Regions from separate parts of the Homo sapiens genome. Here region 1 is linked to region 2. Evidence: promoter capture Hi-C in human tissues and cell types (Jung and others, 2019). All regions are on one chromosome and are shown on one strand. The core of a region is centred on a gene start or on the middle of the fragment in contact, and the rest is flanking DNA. Distances in the headings are between cores, read along the strand shown.

Region 1 (4,532 bases), core at 887-3,386, 370 kb after region 2:
GGAGGTTACATCATCTGCTCACTGTGTGAAGATTCATTGAGCTGGATGTACACGTCTAAATTGTGTTCACAATTGAATTGAATACATGAATATATTACTATATAAATATACTATATACATATAAAACTTAGAAAACAAAGTAGGGAGATGAAGGTGGCTTGGACTAGACTGTTATCAGTGGAGGTGGGAAGAACTGTATGCATTCTAGATCTCTTTTATATGTAGATCCAATAAGATTTGCAAACAGATCTAATGTTAGATGTGAAGACAGAGAATAGTCCAGGATAATGTCAAGTTCTCTGGCTGAGCTACAGCAAAGACTGAGGACCTGCTGTGTACCAGAGCTTGGGCTAAGCTCTATTAACTTCTTTAATCTTCATGACAATTCTAGGAAGTAAGTCTGGCAAGAGCTGCTTCTGAGGTTTTTGTGGGGCTACTGGGAGCCTTTCCACCAGAAGTGTAGTTTGTGTGATGGATTCCAGAGGTAGTGGTGGCCACCTTTGCCTCCATGAGGTTACAGGCTGCCTGAGAGTGAGGCCTACAAGAAAGAAATCAAAGCCATGATAGAGAGAGAGACAGGATCCTCACAGTAACATGTCAGCACCTGGATTCAGCCATAACAGAAGCCAGTGCCCTGGGCTTCTCAGTTATATAAATTAATAATTACTTTTTTTTTTATTTCTTTCACTTCTAACTGAAGAGTCCAGACTGATACAACTTCTTCATATGTGTCCCCTGTCTGCACCATCCAATGGACCATCAACAGCAGCTACATCCTCTCCTTACCGTTGCTTGCTTGCTTTTTTTGAGACAAGGTCTCTTTCTGTTGATCAGACTGGAGTGCAGTGGCATAATCACAGCTCACTGCAGCCTTGACCTCTTGGGCTCAAGCAGTCCTTCTGCCTCAGCCTCCTAAGTAGCTGGGTCTATAGGTGCTTGCCATCATGCCCAGCTATTTTTTTTTTTTTCATAGAGACAGGGTCTCACTATGCTGTCTAGGCTGGTCTTGAACTCCTGGACTCAAGAAATCTTCCTGCCTTGGCCTCCCAAAGTAGTGGGATTACAGGCGTGAGCCACCGTGTTTGGCCGTCCTTACCATTTCTAATGCCTGCTCTGCACTTTCTCTCTCTGGACCTTTGCTCCTACAGGTCCTCCTTTCCAGAATGCCTTTCCTCCCTTACCTTCTGCCCTCACATCAAAACCAGCCCCCTACTCAAAGCCATCCTAACTCCACCAGCTGAAGGATGGAGCTGGCAGAGTGCTTAGATATCAATCCATTTTACAGATGGGAATACCAAGGTCACTGTGAGACAGGGCAGATTTGTGGTCAGGACTCCCGCGTTCTGACTCTCTGAGACTCTTTCCATGATCCTCCAGGACAGCCTTTTCTGTGCCCTCCCTTGCGTGGGGTTGAACAGTACTTTTCACAACAATTTACACTCTCCCATACCCCAACCCTTGCACGTGCTGTTTCCTCAGTCTGGGATGCCCTATTCCATTCTGTCCTTCCGGAAAGGGTGCCACTTGAACTTGGAGATTCAACTCAAGGATCAGACTTCCAGAAGCCTTCTCTTTTTCCCAGGGTGGCTCTGTGTCCTGCCTGGTACTCCCACAGCTGCCTCTGGTACCTCCATGAACCCATTTATCCATTTGTTTTTTAGGTGTCTGTTTCTTGTTTGCCTCACCTGTTAGGTAGGGGAACTGAGGCAGACCTCCTGGCCAAAGAAGGCTCCCAACTGATGTTTGTGAATCAACATAGAGTGAGAAAGAGCCCCGTGGAGTGGGGCGGGGGGTGGAGAGCCAGCGCTGGGCGTGGAGGCAGGACGCCTGGGCTCCAGTCCAGCCACCACCACTCTAGTGTGTGGCCTCATGCAAGTCATGTCCTCTCCTTGAGCCTCAGGCTTTTTTGGCAGTAAAAAGGGCAGAACATCATAGTAGTTAATACCTCAGGCAGCCTGGATTTGAATCTTGGCTGTGTGACTTTAGGCAGTTTACTCCAGCTCTCTGTGCCTGTTTCCTCATTTGCAAAATGGGGGCAATAAACATATCTGCATCATAGGGTATTTGTGAGCATTAAATGAGTTAATGTTTACAAAGCTTTCAAACCATGCTTGCTTGGCACATCATATAAGCATCCCAGAGTGAGAACCATTAAACAAAAGAAACCCTTCCCTTCCTGAGAGGAGAGGAGAGCTTGACAAACTCTAAAGTGGCGTGTGAGTGAACTATGGTCACTCTCAGGGGGTAAGCTGCCTGGAAAAGGCTGACTCTGACACTGACTAGTGTGTGTCTTTGGAGAAATCATGTCACCTCTCTGGGACTCAGCTTCCCCATCTATCAAATGGAGGAGTTGGTCTAGCGCAGTTGGAGTTAAAGTGCTTTGTCTCTTTGAGTTTTATGTCCATGTCAGTAGAGTGGGCTGAGAGCTGCATGTCTGTCATGCGCTCCTGGTGAGAATGAAATACGATGATGGGCCGGACGCGGTGGCTCATGCCTGTAATCCCAGCACTTTGGGAGGCTGAGGCGGGTGGATCACTTGAGGTCAGGAGTTCGTGACCAGCCTGGCCAACATGGTGAAACCCTGTCTCTACTAAAAATACAAAAATTAGCCGGGTGTGGTGGCGGGCGCCTGTAATCCCAGCTACTTGGGAGGCTGAGGCAGGAGAATCGCTTGAACCCGGGAGGTGGAGGTTGCAGTGGAACCAGGATTGAGCCACTGCACTCCAGCCTGGGCAAAAAAGTGAGACTCTGTCTCAAAACAAATAAATAAAATAAAAAATATAATAATAAATAAATAAATACAATGATGTCTGGAGCACTTGCCAGTCATGCCTGCCACATAGCAAGTAATCTGTCATAACTGTCACTGTTATTCTGGCCCTGACATTCCAGGGTTCCTTGAGGTGGGGCAGGATGAGGGATGGGCTGGGCATCATGAAGGAAGGTGCTGATGTATCACCTACTGACAGTTTAGAAAAGGGAAGGCAGCCATGTGACCCACAGGCAGTGTCCCCCTGCCTGAGCCTTATTTGCAGGGCTGTGGCATCGGTGAGCAGGACAGGGACCACCACGCCCACTAGAGAAAGAAGCACGTGCTGCTTTTGTGAGTTCACAAAGGTCTTGGTTTTCCAGGGCCAACAGTGTCCCCGCCACACGTGACCACCTCAGAACCATCACCTGCCACCTGCCAGGGCCTGGGAGTTGGAATCTGAGGTGGAAGGAGAGAGCAGGGGCCAACTCCTGGCTGCTCCCCTCTCTTGGTATGTGACCCTGGGCAAGCCTCTGCACCTCTGTCCCCTTTGTCCTCTCTTGTCACATAATGAGGTTTTGAGTGTCTTAGATAGGGAGGATGTCTCCCTATCTAAGGATAGGATAGGATAGAAATGGCCAGGCCCTGGTGCCTCTGCTAGCTCAGTCTGGCTGGGACGACCTGGGAAGAACATGGCCTCAGTTCCAAAGCCAAGGCGGCTCCTGGGGGAGCTGCAGCTGGAGGCTGTCAGCTTGCTGCCCTCCTTGCTGCTGAAGGACAAGCTTTTTCTTGAAGATAGGATGGATAGGATGTCTCCTATCCATCAGGAGATGCGATTATTGGCCTAGACTGGGCAGGGTCTCCACCTGGGCGACGGGTTGGGAGGCGGAAGTGAAGCTGGTGGCATGAACCATTCTCAGTGACCTTTCACCAGGGTGAGTGGGAAGTAGTTGGGAGCATCGAGGCCTCACTCTCCATCCTGAAGATGGAGCACAGACTGGCTGGCTGAGGCCGGGAGCTCATCACGGGATGGAGACAGATTGGCAGACAAAGAGGAGGCGGGCGGTTGGGGCTGGGTGCCCCTGGGGAGGAAGGCGGGGAGAGAGCGTAGGAGCAGGAGGAAAGAAGGCTGGGCTTATGTGCAGCCTCACAGACTGGGCCTGCAGAGTCTCCAGCTGGAGGTTGGGACTGGACCTTCCTCCTGAATGGGCAGGGAGGGAGGCTTGTTGGCCTAGCCCTCGGGGTTCTTGAAATAAATGAGGGAGGGCCTTGGGGGGTGGTAAATTGCTGAGGCTGTGATAAACATTCTCCCCTTCCCACAAAACACACACAGGCACGTGTGCGTGCATACACATACACACACACACCCTGGCCACACTGCTGTGCATATCTTACTGATTGTTGTCCTCTGTGACAGCAGTTCTCCAAGTTGAGTGCATTGGAAGGATCAGTTAAAATGCAGATTTCCAGGCATTTCCATCTCTAAATGTAGGGTGTGGCCTGAGAATGTGTATGTCTTACAGGATCCTGGTTGATGCTGATGCTGGGGGTTCTGGGACACACTTTGAGAACCACTGCTCCATTGAGCAGCCTTTCAGTTTGGGTGCCCCTCGGTGCTGGTGCTGGGAGAGAGTTAGGAGGGCAAGGGGGTTAGTGAGGGCTGCTACCTGTGAAACACAAAGCAGGAGGGAATGGAATTGGCCAGGAGAGCCTCAGACCACAGCCCGGGCCTGCAGAGTCACCCTCTAGGGGTCTCTGGAGTAAAGATTATCCACAGAGAAGC
Region 2 (5,101 bases), core at 2,602-5,101:
GAAAGATCCTGAGCATCTGGATACAGCCATGCCTGAAGCCAGTATCCCTTGACTTCTCAATTATGTGAGCCTTTATATTCCCTTTGTTTAAAGCCAGTTCAAGTTTAAAACTGCCATTTCCAGTGAGAACAATTCCCTATGTTGTATCTAAGGCCAAGACCTTGCCCCTGACTCTAGGCCAGAATGTCCTGTACAGTGCCATTCAACTCTGCCAAAAGCAAAGGGCATCAACTTCTCCACAACCTGGCTTTCCCTCATCTATTTTACATCTCTGTTAATGGGAGCATCACCCACCTGACCTATAAACATAAAAGTCAGCCTCTATCCTCTCTGTCTCTCTCCCTCTCTCTGTCTCTCTCTCTCTCTCTCAATCCCTGTCACTTCCCTTACTTCTTAGTAACCAAGTTCTGCCAACTTAACTTTATGGACATTTTTCACACCTGCACCCTCCTTTCCATTTTTCCTGCCCACTCCAATTCTTCATCATTTCTCACCTAAATTTTTACAAAATCAATAGATAACTAACATAGAGGTGTATAGTAAAAAGTGAATTTCGGCCGGGCACAGTGGCTCATGCCTGTAATCCCAGCACTTTGGGAGGCCGAGGCAGGCAGATCATGAGGTCAGGAGATAGAGACCATCCTGGCCAACATGGTGAAACCTCATCTGTACTAAAAATACAAAAAAAAATTAGCTGGGCATGGTGGCATGTGCTTGTAGTCCCAGCTACTGGGGAGGCTGAGGCAGGAGAATCGCTTGAACCCGGGAGGCGGAGGTTGCAGTGAGCTGAGATCGCACCACTGCCCTCCAGCCTGGTGACAGAGCGAGACTCCATCTCAAAAAAAAAAAAAAAAAGTGAATTTCATTCCCACCCTTGCCATCAGTTACCCTCCCCCAAGGCATCTACTGTTACCTCTTTCTTGTCTATTTTCCCAGAAGTTCTCTATATGTGCCATCTTTTTGAGAATTTCAAATGGAGGCATACTATCAAGACTTTTCAGAACACTGCATCCTTCTTCACTTGAAGTGTGATTAATATAAATAATTATAGACTAATTTCTTCTTTCTAATGGATGCATAGTATTCCACAAAGACATATAATGTACATAACTCGTCTTCCATTGATGGATATTTAAGTGGTGTCCCAGTTATCTGTTAGCACAGAACAAAACCCCCCAAACCTAGTGGTATAACACAATAACCACTTGAATATGCTTGTGGGTTCTGTGTGTCAGGAATTCAGGCAGGACACAGTGAGGCCAGCTTGTTTCTACTCTGCAATGTTTGAGTCTTCAGCTAGGAAGATTTGAAGATTTGAAGGCTGAAGCTGATTCAAATGGCTGGCCACTGGAATCATCTTGTTCTTCCCCTTCCCCTTCGCCTTCTACAGTGCAATGGCATGATGTCGGCTCACTGCAACCTCTGCCTCCCGGGTTCAAGCAATTCTCCTGCCTCATCCTCCCTAGTAGCTGGGATTACAGGTGCACGCCACCATGCCCGGCTATTTTTGTATTTTTAGTAGAGACGGGGTTTTGCCATGTGGCCAGGCTGGTCTCGAACTCCTGAACTCAGGGTATCCACCCGCCTTGGCCTCCCAAAGTGCTGGGATTACAGGTGTGAGCCACCGTGCCTGGCCTCATCTGGTTCTTCTTCACTCACTTCTTTTATGCTTGAACTGGGATGACTCAAAGCTAAGCTTAGCTGGGACTGTGGTGCCTTCATGTGTCCTCTCCTGATGGTCTTGGCATCCTGACAGCATGGCAGCCTCTAAGCAGACATGGAGCCCTAGGTAGGCATGGTGCCTCAGGCTCCAAGAGCTAGAGTTCTAGCAGAAGTTGCCTGTACTTTTATGTCTGGACCTTAGAAGTCAGAGTGTTACTTCCACCGTACTCCATTGGTTGAAGCAGTCATCAGCTCACCCAAGATTCAGAGAGGGTACAAGGATCCCACCTCTCTACAGAGGAGTGCTAAAGAATTTGTAGCTATATTTTAAAACCACCACAGGTTGTTTCCAATCTGTAGCTATTCCTGTAGTTCATTTTACAGGCTAACATCTCTTGAATGTCTTCATTTCTCTGCACCAGGCCAAGACACTGTCATCTCTGATCTCTTTGCTGATCTCTTGCTGTCACTCTTGTGCTCAACATGCTGTTCTCTTGACAGCAGCCAGAGGTCTTTTCAGAATGAAAATCAGATCACATCCCACCCCTCTTCATAACCCTTCCATGGCTCCCCACTACCCTTGGGCTGAAGCTCAAACTCCTTACCTTGGCTTATGAGGCCCCACAAGGTCTCACTTCTGCCTGCCTCTCCAATGCCATCTCCTGTCACCATTTGGGGCCTTTAGTTTTGAGCTGCAAGAGTTCCTCCCATCACACACACACACATACACACACACACACACACTTAAATGAGTAAGTAAATAGAACATACAAAACGCTTAAACACTTTGCACATAGTGAGCATAATAAGTTTGCTACTATTATTAGACTGTCTTCAGTAAATATTTACTGGGCTGCCTACTCAGTGCCAAGCACTATGGGAGGCTCACAGATACAACACGAACAAGAAATATGTGGCCTTGGCCAGACGCGGTGGCTCACGCTTACAATCCCAGCACTTTGGGAGGCCGAGGCAGGTGGATCACTTGAGCTCAGGAGTTCAAGACCAGCCTGGGCATCATGGCAAAACCCTGTCTCTATTAAAAATACAAAAAATTAGCTAGGCATGGTAGTGCGTGCCTGTAGTCCCAGCTCCTCAGGCGACTGAGGTGGGAGGATCACCTGAGCCTTGGGAGATCGAGGCTGCAGTGAGCCGTGATCATGCCACCGCACTCCAGCCTGGACAACAGAGTGAGACGCTGTCTCAAAAAAATAAAAATTAAAAAAAAAGAAAAAGAAAAACTAAAAAGGAAGATGTGGCCCTATCTTGCCGAGCTCATTCTTCTGTGTGTCCCCAGCCCCTAGCACAAGGAGAAACAGAATAGATGCTCAAGACACAAAGGCATGTCTGTGCAAGGGTGCTTGATGACGGTTGGAGGGGCACAATGACTTTCCCAAGATCACACAGCAAATGTGGGACAAAATCAAGGCTGACAGCTCATGACAGGGTGGGAGGCAGATGCAGCTGCCTGGCACAGGCTGGCTCTCCAGGGAGATGGGCAGTGGGCACGCATTGCCCAGGGCAGAACTGGGGCTAGGGGAGGAAACAACAAGGGAGGCTGTCATTAGCTCCTTCCAAAGTGGAGGTCACTTCTCTCCCAACCCCGAGTCCTCCACCCAAACTCCCTTCTCAAGGTACAAGGGCTGATCCCGTACCAGGGATGGGTAGGGACTCAAAGAGGAAAAGAGGATGAAAAGAGGATGGGGACTGAGTGAGATGTGAGGACTCCAGAGGGATTAGCGGCTCTCAAGGCAAGTGGGAGGGGACTTCCCGGTAGGAGCCCGGAGACAGATGGGAGCCTGTGAAGAGGGCGGGGGCCCGGCGAGGAGAAGCGGTTTCTACGCTGGGGTGGGGCTCCATGAGGGGGATGGAGACCTGGAAAAGGGACTGACGGTGCAGCGAGGAGAGGAAGGCTCGGTTAAGGGATGGGTCTTCCACGGGAGGGGTGGGGAACTGCGGGAGTGACGGCAGCTTCGGTGAGGAGTCTGAGGGGCTGCGTGAGGGGCTGGGGCCCAGGGAGTCCGAGGGGTCTCTGTGAGGGCGCTGGGGTGTCCGAGCGAGCAGGGAACTCTGGAAGGGGACAGGAGCCGGGGGAGCTGCAGGCGGCCGCCGTCTGCAGAGCCAGGCCCTGAGGCGGGCCGGCGCCCCCTCCCCCGCCCCGAACTGCGGCGCAGGCGCGAACCGGACCCGCCTTTGCTCGGCGGAGACAGCAGGCAGAGAGGTGAGCTTAGCCCTGCCCCACGCGCGGCCAGGCCCCAGCCCCAGCCCCTGGAGAACCCCCGCGCTCTGCCCGCATCCTCAGCCCGGGCCGTGTCCCGCCAGGGCCGGGACCTTTGCGCCTGAGCCTCGGCTTTGGGAGGTGGGGGTCCCAGGGAAGCAGCAGGGGCGGGAGACAGAAACAGCCCCATCGCCCCTCGACGCCTCAGGGTTGATAGGCTGGGTAGAGGCTTCAAAGGACACCCCCACCCCCGCCAACACTTCAAAAACCCATTCCTACCCCTCTCTGCCTCAGTTTCTCTCTAGGGAAAAGGACGCAGTTGGTGTGGAGCAGGGCATCGGTGGTCCTGTCAGGAAGAGTGGCGCGGGTGCCGGTGGGGAAGGGAGGCGGGAAATGGCCTGATTTCCCCGGCCGACACCCCCTACCCATCCCCCCCGGGAGGGCGCCCCTTCTCCCCCGCCCGGGCAGCGCTGGACGCTGTAGTGGGCGAGTCTGAGGGTCTGGGAAGGACACAACTGAATGAGGCTGTGCAGAGGCGACAGATTCCGTCCATCTTCGGGCCCTGGCTTCCGTCACTTCCGCCCGTGCCTGCCGCCCCTCGCCTCCTCCCTCCGCCGCAGTCTCCCCACGTCGGACAGCGCAGCCCCCTCCGCCTCCCGCTCCCCTCCCACCGAGCTCCTCCCGGCTCCCGGGCTGGGGACGCCTCCCTAGCGGTTCCCATGGCAACCCTCGTCCCGGGTGCCTGCGCCCCGCCCCCCGCCCGCCAGACCTACTCCGTGCAGCCCTGAAACGCCAGGCGGAGGGGCCAGGCCGAGCGGGAGGCAGCGTCAAGGTCACCTTCCCTCTCCAGTAGCAGCAGGACTGAGTGATTCCATCTATTTGGAGTCGCGGAAGCGGTGAATTGGAGGGGAGGAGCTGACCCAGGTCAACAGCCCCGAAGCCCCCTCCACACCTCCTCACCTGTGGCCTTGAACAGTGGTCTCCGCACGGAGGCTCCTACCGTCCCCCAGGCCCCATTTCTTCTCCCCACCCGGGCCTCCCCAGCGCCTCGCCGGGGCGGGTACCGCGCTGGCCGCACCCTCCGCACAGCCCGCCCCGCCCGCCTCCTCCGGCGAGCCCTCCTCTCCAGACCTCTCGCCCTCCTCCTCCGACGGTCCTTCGCTTTCAGTCTCTGCCTTTTCCCGTTCTCTGTCGTGGCTTTTGTTGTTGTTGTTTTTCCTC

Evidence for each region. Contacts are between HindIII fragments. The study calls those that stand out against the background at their distance.
Region 1: a contact is called between a fragment that was not itself captured here and the fragment with the promoter of NRSN2 in region 2, in 1 of the 25 tissues and cell types used here (pancreas).

What each region holds. Positions count from the first base shown.
Region 1 is chr20:716,204-720,735 of GRCh38, forward strand. No RefSeq gene overlaps it. Among named protein-coding and RNA genes, the nearest start is that of SCRT2, 43 kb to the left of the region's middle. RefSeq lists an enhancer at 3,692-4,196. The HindIII fragment of the contact is 3,953 bases long and covers 161-4,113 here.
Region 2 is chr20:343,260-348,360 of GRCh38, forward strand. NRSN2 (neurensin 2) reads left to right here and starts at 3,852. Exons shown (of 5, transcript NM_001323682.2): 1 at 3,852-3,883; 2 at 4,175-4,253. LOC101929937 (serine/arginine repetitive matrix protein 2-like) reads right to left here. Exons shown (of 4, transcript XM_047440635.1): 2 at 4,841-5,101; 3 at 4,160-4,755; 4 at 3,007-3,732. The coding sequence ends at 3,409. RefSeq lists enhancers at 2,624-3,387, 3,388-4,150, 4,151-4,913 and silencers at 3,720-4,139, 4,160-4,689, 4,870-4,959. The HindIII fragment of the contact is 22,559 bases long and covers 1-5,101 here.